Regions from separate parts of the Homo sapiens genome. Here all the other regions are linked to region 2. Evidence: promoter capture Hi-C in human tissues and cell types (Jung and others, 2019). All regions are on one chromosome and are shown on one strand. Each heading gives the region's core, a stretch centred on a gene start or on the middle of the fragment in contact. The rest is flanking DNA. Distances are from core to core; before and after follow the strand shown. Region 1 overlaps C9orf43 (chromosome 9 open reading frame 43). Region 2 holds the start of SLC31A2 (solute carrier family 31 member 2). Region 3 overlaps RGS3 (regulator of G protein signaling 3).

Region 1 (2,700 bases), core at 201-2,700, 280 kb before region 2:
GTTTCTGGAGAATGAGGTGAGAGAACAGCAGACTGGAATAATGAAAAGAGCTCTGACCTAGCACTAGGAGACCCAGATTCCAGCTTAGCCCCACTTCCCAGCTCATGAGCTCAGTCAAGACAAATCCCCTCTCTGAGCCTTGCTATCCTTACCTTTAAAATGGGACTGCAAATTAATGATCTCTACATTGTGGGGTTAAATTCTTCCTCCTTAAAATTTGTCCCAAATGATGGCTCTGGACAGTCCTAATGTTTTGCAGGACTCAGGATAAGTGTACAAAAACAGGTCTACTAACCATGTCTGAACATTTAAAAACTATAAATTAAGCTAACAAATTGTTAAATAAAACATGTTCTAACTTGCTACCTTGACCAGTATACCTTCATGATCTAGAAAGCCAGGTTCATTCAAAATCCACAGATTCCTTGAGGTTCCACACTAACATGCAGCACTAGAAGAACCAGCCCTCACTTCTCATCCCCATGATCCCATCCTTACTGGGAAAGGCAACAAATGCTGATACCCCAGTCTATCTGTCCAAGCTCTGGGCACATCCCTCTCCAAATACCCTCCTCTTACCCCCTTGAACCCAGCAGCACACACACTGGTGGGATAGTCCACTCTTGGGAGATGGACCCACAAAAGAGGCCTGCAGAAGCCATGGAAGTAGGCAAGAGGCCACTGGGCAGGGAATTCCAGGGTTCCAAATACCAGGAACAAAGTCTAAAAGGGGAGTCACAGACTCCAGCTAGGTGTACGTCCACTTGGCTCTGCAGATTTCTCTGCCGTGAGGGGCAGCACAGCCAGAACACCAGAGGACTTTCTAAAGCACGGGGCCAAGGGCCTTCCTTGCCCAGATCTAAGATACTGAATACATCAAAGTTTCATTATATTATTCTCTTTCCTTTTACGTAATTTTGAAATTTTTACATTATATCTTTTTAAGGACTAAAACATGAAAAAAAAAAAACCTCCAAAACCAAGTTAGAAGTTCTCTCAGACTCTGAAATTCTGAGCCTTTATGAGCATCACTGAAACTTTCCTGTGCAGACTCAGTTCCTTAGAAACTAGAGCTTTTTGCCGGGTGCGGTGGCTCACACCTGCAATCACGGCACTTTGGGAGGCTGAAGTGGGTGGCTCACCTGAGGTCAGGAGTTCGAGACCAGCCTGACCAACATGGAGAAACCCCCATCTCTACTAAAAATACAAAATTAGCCAGGCATGGTGGCGTATGCCTGTAATCCCAGCTACTCGGGAGGCTGAGGCAGGAGAATCGCTTGAACCCAGGAGGCGGAGGTTGCGGTGAGCCGAGATCATGCCATTGCACTCCAGCCTGGGCAACAAGAACAAAACTCCATCTCAAAAAAAAAAAGAAAGAAACTAGAGCTTTTGGCTGGGCACAGTGGTTCATGCCTGTAATCCCAGCACTTTGGGAGGCTGAGGAGGGAGGACTGCTTGAGCCTAGGAGCTTAAGACCAGCGACACAATGAACATTATTTGATAACAATGTAGATCCCATCTCCAAAAGAAACCATTTCTAGGGAATGAGAGGAAAATCTAGGGAGCATCATGGCAGCTCCCATGAGCCAAATTCAGCCTCCTACAACTGGAAACCTTTCAGAACTTCAGAGATAAGAGTGACCCAGAAAACAGATACCAAGAAACATCTTTCCCTTCCTCCTAGAAACAGAAAATAAGTCTTTTGATTGAAAAGCAGTTGTGTTTAATCACCAAAATTATTCTGACCCTAATGGAAAGGAAATAATCTAAATTTAAAAAGGCTGGGGATTTTTCTCCTACATTTATTTTAGAGGCAAGTAGAGGTGAACAAAGAAAATGGAATCCCTAAGCTCAGAGCTCAGGCCCTGGTAAAGGCTCCAGAGAGCAGAAGCCCCTCTCCTCTTGCCCTTATGTGAAACGTTGCTGCCCTCAGGATACCAGCCATCCCGCTTTGGAACACGGCTGCCCCAGGGGATGCCTTCAGTCTATTCCTCCAGAGGCTTCTCACTCTGCCCCAGAGGACTGGTCCTCCTCATCCTCATCATCAGTGTCCTGAAGAATCCTAAGTAGTTTGAGCTCAGAGTTCCAGCCTGTGCTAGCCATAATTTCTGAAAAGTTAAAGGAGATCTTCTTTTGCCTGGCAGCCTGGGCTTCTGGCACAGCGTCCACTGGAGCACTAATGTCCTTGTTAGTGGGTTCTGTTTCATACAATTCAGGACCTAAAAGAAGATGCAGTCATTAATTGCACCTGTAAACTCCTCTCAACTACAACAAATGGAGGACAGAAAAGGAAAAATGGGGTGTTTTTAGGACTTCTCTGAGATAGAGGAACTGTGCCTTCAGGGAGGTAAACTATCCTGGTCAACACAGGTTCAACTCTCCCTATCCTCAGTCACTTACTAAGGTTCCTCTACTCTAGTAACTTACTTTTTACACTGTGGTGGAAATCCGCATGGTCATAGTAGTTCATCTTTGGTCTCTCCGTGGAATCCTGAAATTCATTGGGGTATAAGGAAATTTGAATCAAGACTTTAGGAAACTAAAAGGATTTTTCTAAAAGATGCTTCTCTTGGAGAAATTAACATCTAAGATGAGCCAGAGACCCACCTCTTGGGACTGAAGAGAAGCTTTTACCACACGTTCTTTGCCCTCCATGCTGTCCAAATGAACCTAGAACCACTCCTTCCCATTCCCTGCAGT
Region 2 (2,743 bases), core at 244-2,743:
AGCTGGGAAGATGAACTGTATGGTTTGTTCAGAGCTGGAAACACCCACGGAGTCCGAAGCCCCAGAGGGACGAAGACTCACCTGTCACTCAACCCTTTCTACTTTTGCCTTTTTGCTAGAGGAAAAGATGGAAGTCAGCACACCCTGACTTGAGAGAAGCGATCTGGGCTACAGTTTTCAATTAAAGGGCTTTGTGGTCAGATAGGCAAGGGGCAGGGCCCCAATCTTGTTTTCCTACTTGGGATGAATCTTGGCCTCTGAAAGTTTAACTGATTTGTGCTTTTTTCAGGGTGGGGCTGTGGTGAAGGAGGGAGCAATCCCTGGAACTTGTTTTCTTCTATATTTCTTCATTTGGGGTTACTTACACTTTGAGAAAAGCTTCCTTATTTGTAAACAAGGGTTGGGAAGGAGATGAAGGTCCCAGTTGCTAGGCTGACTGGCTGGGGAACTTTTGCAAGTGCTTTCCATCTATTTCCCTTTTTAAAGGACGGCTGATCATTTCACTAAATGGCCTACATACACTTCCTATATCTTTTTTTTTTTGTTTTGTTTGTTTGAGGACGTCTTGTTCTGTTGCCCAGGCCGAAGGTCATGGCTCACTGCAGCCTGGAACTTCTGGGCTCAAGCAATCCTCCTCATCCTGCCTCAGCCTCCGAGTAGCTGGGATTACAGGCGCCTGCCACCACTTGTGGCTAATTTTTGTAGAGACGGGGTCTAGCTATGTTGCCCAGGCTGAGCTTCCTGTATCTTAAATTCTATGACATTCTTCATGGGATGAAGAAAATGATATGACTTCTTCAAAGACGAACGAGTCTTGCAAGCTGTCGTTCTCTCCAGCCCAGGTGAACCCTACCAAGAAAAACAGCTTGTCTGAAACGCTGTTTTCTGACTGAAAGTGTAGGGAAGCTGGAAAGTAGCTGGTTCTGTTTTATTCCCCGAAGAATCAGGCTACAAACTTGACAAGAGCAGGGCCGGGGATGTGCGCTCGGTGTGCGCGCGGGGCTGCGGGCTGAAATGCGCCGGGGGTTTCCCTTTCGTGGAAGCCTTCCTGGAATCTCCCAAGGCGCTGCTCTCCGCCCTGGGGCGCCGGCCAGAGGTCCGGGGCCGGGGGCCCCGGACCCAGCTGTCTTCAGCCACCGCGCCCCCACTCTCAAGCCGCGCCACCGCGGGCGCTCGGTAACTGCTCGCCTAGCCGGACTGCCTCCCAGCAGGAGGGACAAATAAAGAGGAAAACCACAGAGCCACCGCAACCTATACCTGCCGCGTCCCCCAACCCTGTTCCAGCTGTTGGCAATGCTGCCAACACACCCTTCACCAGCCCCGGGCCAGCGGCAGCGAGGATTCGGGGTGCCGAGATGGCAGCTCCAGGAGACCCCGCCCCAACCGCCCACCCTCTTCACCGTAGCGCCCGGCCCTTACCGCCATGGTGAGTGCGCAGGGCGGGCGCCAGGGCCGCGTCTGCTCGCTCGGGTCTCCTCGCTCCGAGTCAGTTCAACCGCCGCCGCCGCCGCCGCCGCGATAGCTACCCTGGCCGCACGGATCACGTGGTCCGGGCGAGGCGGCGCGCGGGCGCCTGGGAGTTGTGGTCCCCACACGCGCCCTACTTCGGCGTCCTCGGGCGCGCCCCCTGGCCGAGACCCAGGCGCCTCGCCCCAGGTTCCCAAGGGCTGAGGCTTGGCGTTCCCGGAGTCGCGAGCGAGAGGGACCACCTGCTGCCCTCTGTCTTCGCCCTTCCTGTTTTGCACTTGGCTTGTCTTGGCGATTATGAGAATGTTTATTGCTCATTGTAATAAACTACCCCAAGCGTAACATATATTGAGTTGAAATGGGCAAGTCCGTGCTATGGACGCAATAGCAACACATTTGGAGTAAATTAAGTCAATTATGCCCTAGATTTTTAGTGTAGTCATTACAAGATAATTACATTTTTCTTTTTAGAAAAATATTTTCCAATCTGATAAGCCAAAAGGAATACACCCGTGTAATTTTGTTTTTCTTTGATTACTAGGGTAGTAAACTATTTTTCTTACGGGTACTTCCATTTCTGTGTATTGCCTGTTCATTTCACTGATCCAGTTTTTTGATGGGGAGTTTCTTGTAGGGTGAGGGATTTTTAATGGTTATTGATTCTTAAGCATATTTAGGAACCCTTTGCTAATCAGCCTATGAGTAAAGAGGCTCTTCAGAGAAACCTTACTAAGGACAGTATTAGCAGAGACCTTGAGCCTGGAGCTAACCTCAGTTCACATCCATACGCATCAACTATTGGCTTTGGGACCGTAGGCAAATAGCTTACATCTCTGAACCTCAGTTTTCTGGTCAGTAAAATGAAAATAATAATAAAATCTATGTCATAGGGATTAAATGAAAACATACATGTTAAATTATCATGTAACCTGGCAGTGGGAGCTTGTTCAGTAAATGGTAGAATCCTCAGGGTCACACAGCTTTTTTTCTTTTCTTTGAAACAGAGTCTCGCTCTGTCGCCCAGGCTGTAGTGCAGTGGCGCGATCTTGGCTCACTGCAACCTCCATCTCCCGTGTTCAAGCAATTCTCCTGCCTCAGGCTCCCGAGTAGCTGGGACTACAGGCGCGCACCACCATGCCTGGTTAATTTTTGTATTGTTAGTAGAGACGGGGTTTCACCATATTGGTCAGGCTGGTCTTGAAATCCTGACCTCGTAATCTGCCCGCCTCGGCCTCCCAAAGTGCTGGGATGCTGGGATTACAGACGTGAGCCATCT
Region 3 (2,700 bases), core at 11-2,510, 420 kb before region 2:
CTGCCAAACAGCAACAAGCCATGTTCTCTGCCTTGGAGATGCCAGGTCCATCTCTCACCCACCTGCTACCATGCTAGGAGGCTGTGGAAGTAGAGGCAGCAGGGACAACTAGGATGGCTCTGGGAGGAGGTAATAGGGGGGAAAAGATGGGACAGGATATTCCAGGCTGAGCCAGAGCCAGCAGGGAACATTCAAGGAAGTGGAGGTGGTTGGATGAGGCAGGAGCATGGATATTTTAAGGAATTCCAACGTTACCCTGAAAGCAATGTTTACTTAGCGCTGCAGAGGTAAGGAAGGTGAAGCTAGAGGTGTTCAAAACAGATAATGATGACAAAGATAGGGGAGAGAGAGAGATCATTAACTGAGCATCTACTGCATGCCACACACTGTGACAGTTGTTTTATACTTTAGGCTCTACTTCCAACAATCCTATGAGATCAGTATCATTTTTAATAAGAAAACTAGGAGTTAGAGACATTAAGTAACTTACACAAGATCAAAAAGCAAGTCAGTGGAAGAGTCAGAATTGAAACCATGGTCTGCCTGACTCCAAAGCCCTGCTCTTTCTACTCCTCTGTGATCTCCTTTCCTGCCGTCTTCACTTCCTCCTTCCCTTCCTTCAAAGGATGCTTCCTGAGGACAAACCTGGGCCTGGCTCTGTGCTAGGCAGTGGAGAGCAATACCAGACGCAGGGGCCCCGCTCGGACTCCACATGGTTGGAGACTGAGGGGCAGGAGACTGACACCTGGTGTTGGGAGGGGCAGTGCAGAATTCTGTACACCCAGTGACCCTCCCAAATCCTCTCCCTCCCAGGGTCCCCTTCCAGGTGGGGAGAGCTAGAAGCGTGTGGCTTCTCTGTGATGTTTTCTGCTAGGTTAATCAAAGAAGCTCTGCCATGCCAGGATGACCTCAGGGAAGGACACAAATAGCACTGCAGTCATGAGGTCAGCCTTTGGAAGCAGGAGGGCCTGGGGGTGAATCCCAATTCCTATCCATGTGCCGCCTCCCTCACAGCCAGTGTGCCGCTTCCTCACGGCTGCTACGGGGCATATGGAGGCAGTGCCTGGCACACAGTAGCCCATGGTGGTGCCCCTCTGCTCCTTGCCTTCCTCTCCACAGCTTGACTCTCTCATGAGTGGGCACCAGGGACCAACCCAAAAACTAAGGTTTTACTCCAAGCAACAGCTCTGAGAATAGGGAGGACTGAAAGCCAGAGGTGGAAGGAGGGAAGCCTATTGCTGATGAACAACTGGGGCTTGGAGATAGGCAAATCAAGCTTCAAACCCTGGCTCTGCCACCTCCTACGTCAAGGTACCTGCACAGGCTGCTTAACCTATTCAGGCTCGATTTCCTCATCTGTAAAATGGCAATGTGAATACTGAGTACCCACATCACAGCTCTGTGGGGAGGGCTTAGCATAGGGCCTGGCACCTAGTAAGTGCTCAATAAGCATCTGCAATTTCTGTAATCATAATTGTTACTCTCATGACGATCATCGACATCATCAGCTCCCTCTCCTGCATCCAATTCCGGGACAGGGCACTTGACGTATTCTGACCCTTACAGCAGCCTAGGACAGGAGTCCTGTTAGTTGCAGGTTTCAGGGGGGGAAACTTGGAAGCTGAGAAGGCAGATGAGTCTGTGCTCAGCCTGCCCCTAGGCTGGGTCAGTCTGGCTCACTGCATGGCCTGGGCCAAATCACTCCCCTCACTGGGTCTTGCTCTTCCCAGCATGTCTGTCCAGTTCTGAATCTCAGCTAGCCTAGAAAGATCAGAGTTCAGGGCCCAAGGCATAGCCAGGTCTCCTTGTGGGGGCATCAAGGGCAGGAGGAACAGAAAGGTCCCCCTTTCCAGATACACACCCTTGCCTTATCTGTCTGCCCCAGTCTGCCCCACTGCCCTCCTCCTTCAGGGCCTGCAGCGCTGGGGGCACTGGGTGGTGGTGGGGTGCCCATCCAGTAAAAAAAAGAGGCTTTTTCACTCGAGGACACTGGAGTGGACATGTGGACATGAGACTAAGCCACAACCCTGTGGCCGAAGGTCACCCTCCCGAGCCTCAGGCACACTCAGCCTCACCGCTGCCTCCTGAGGCAGGCACACCCTATCTCTGCTTGGGGGTGATGTCAGGGCTAGGTTTGGCTGAATTTACAGTCTTCTCCAAACCCACCCTCCTGCCTCCCTCTGTCATGAGACTTTCTCTTATCTCCCTTGGCCCTGCACCAACTTGCCTATATTGGTCTCCTGCTCAAAATGCCTTCATCCCTCTAGGATAAAGTCCCATCCTCTAACCCTGTGTGTTCTGCCCCCGCCAACCTCTCCACCACACCGTTTCTCCTCTTTTCCCTCCAGCCAGTCTGCTACACTCTACCCTCAGGCCCCTCTAAACCTATGCTCACACTGTACGTCCTGCCTAGAGCACCTTCCCCTCCCCTGTCCACCTGCTGAAGCTCTACTCATTCTTCAAAATTCAAGTGACCCACCCACGTATTGCCCCTCAATTTCTGACAAAGGTGACATTGCCCTATAGTGAGACAGGATGGATTTTGAATACATTGAATATTTATCCAGAGAAAATGAGTCTTGACCTCTACTTCATACATGGATAAAAATCTATTTCAAGTGGATTTTAGATCTAAATATGAAACATAAAACATCTAAAAGAATACATAAAAGTATATGTCCATAACCTTGTAATAAGCAG

Evidence for each region. The method cuts DNA at HindIII sites, captures the fragments that hold promoters and counts their contacts. A contact is called where the count stands out against the background at its distance.
Region 1: a contact is called between a fragment that was not itself captured here and the fragment with the promoter of SLC31A2 in region 2, in 1 of the 25 tissues and cell types used here (liver).
Region 3: a contact is called between a fragment that was not itself captured here and the fragment with the promoter of SLC31A2 in region 2, in 1 of the 25 tissues and cell types used here (aorta).

Annotation. Positions count from the first base shown.
Region 1 is chr9:113,428,691-113,431,390 of GRCh38, reverse strand. C9orf43 (chromosome 9 open reading frame 43) reads right to left here. Exons shown (of 14, transcript NM_001278629.2): 13 at 2,428-2,491; 14 at 1,701-2,219. The coding sequence ends at 2,005. Among named protein-coding and RNA genes, the nearest start is that of C9orf43, 19 kb to the right of the region's middle. The HindIII fragment of the contact is 8,820 bases long and covers 1-2,700 here.
Region 2 is chr9:113,149,757-113,152,499 of GRCh38, reverse strand. SLC31A2 (solute carrier family 31 member 2) reads right to left here and starts at 1,493. Exons shown (of 4, transcript NM_001860.3): 1 at 1,420-1,493. The coding sequence starts at 1,425. The HindIII fragment of the contact is 13,784 bases long and covers 1-2,743 here.
Region 3 is chr9:113,571,779-113,574,478 of GRCh38, reverse strand. The region is part of intron 17 of RGS3 (regulator of G protein signaling 3); the gene reads right to left. Among named protein-coding and RNA genes, the nearest start is that of RGS3, 110 kb to the right of the region's middle. The HindIII fragment of the contact is 5,501 bases long and covers 1-2,700 here.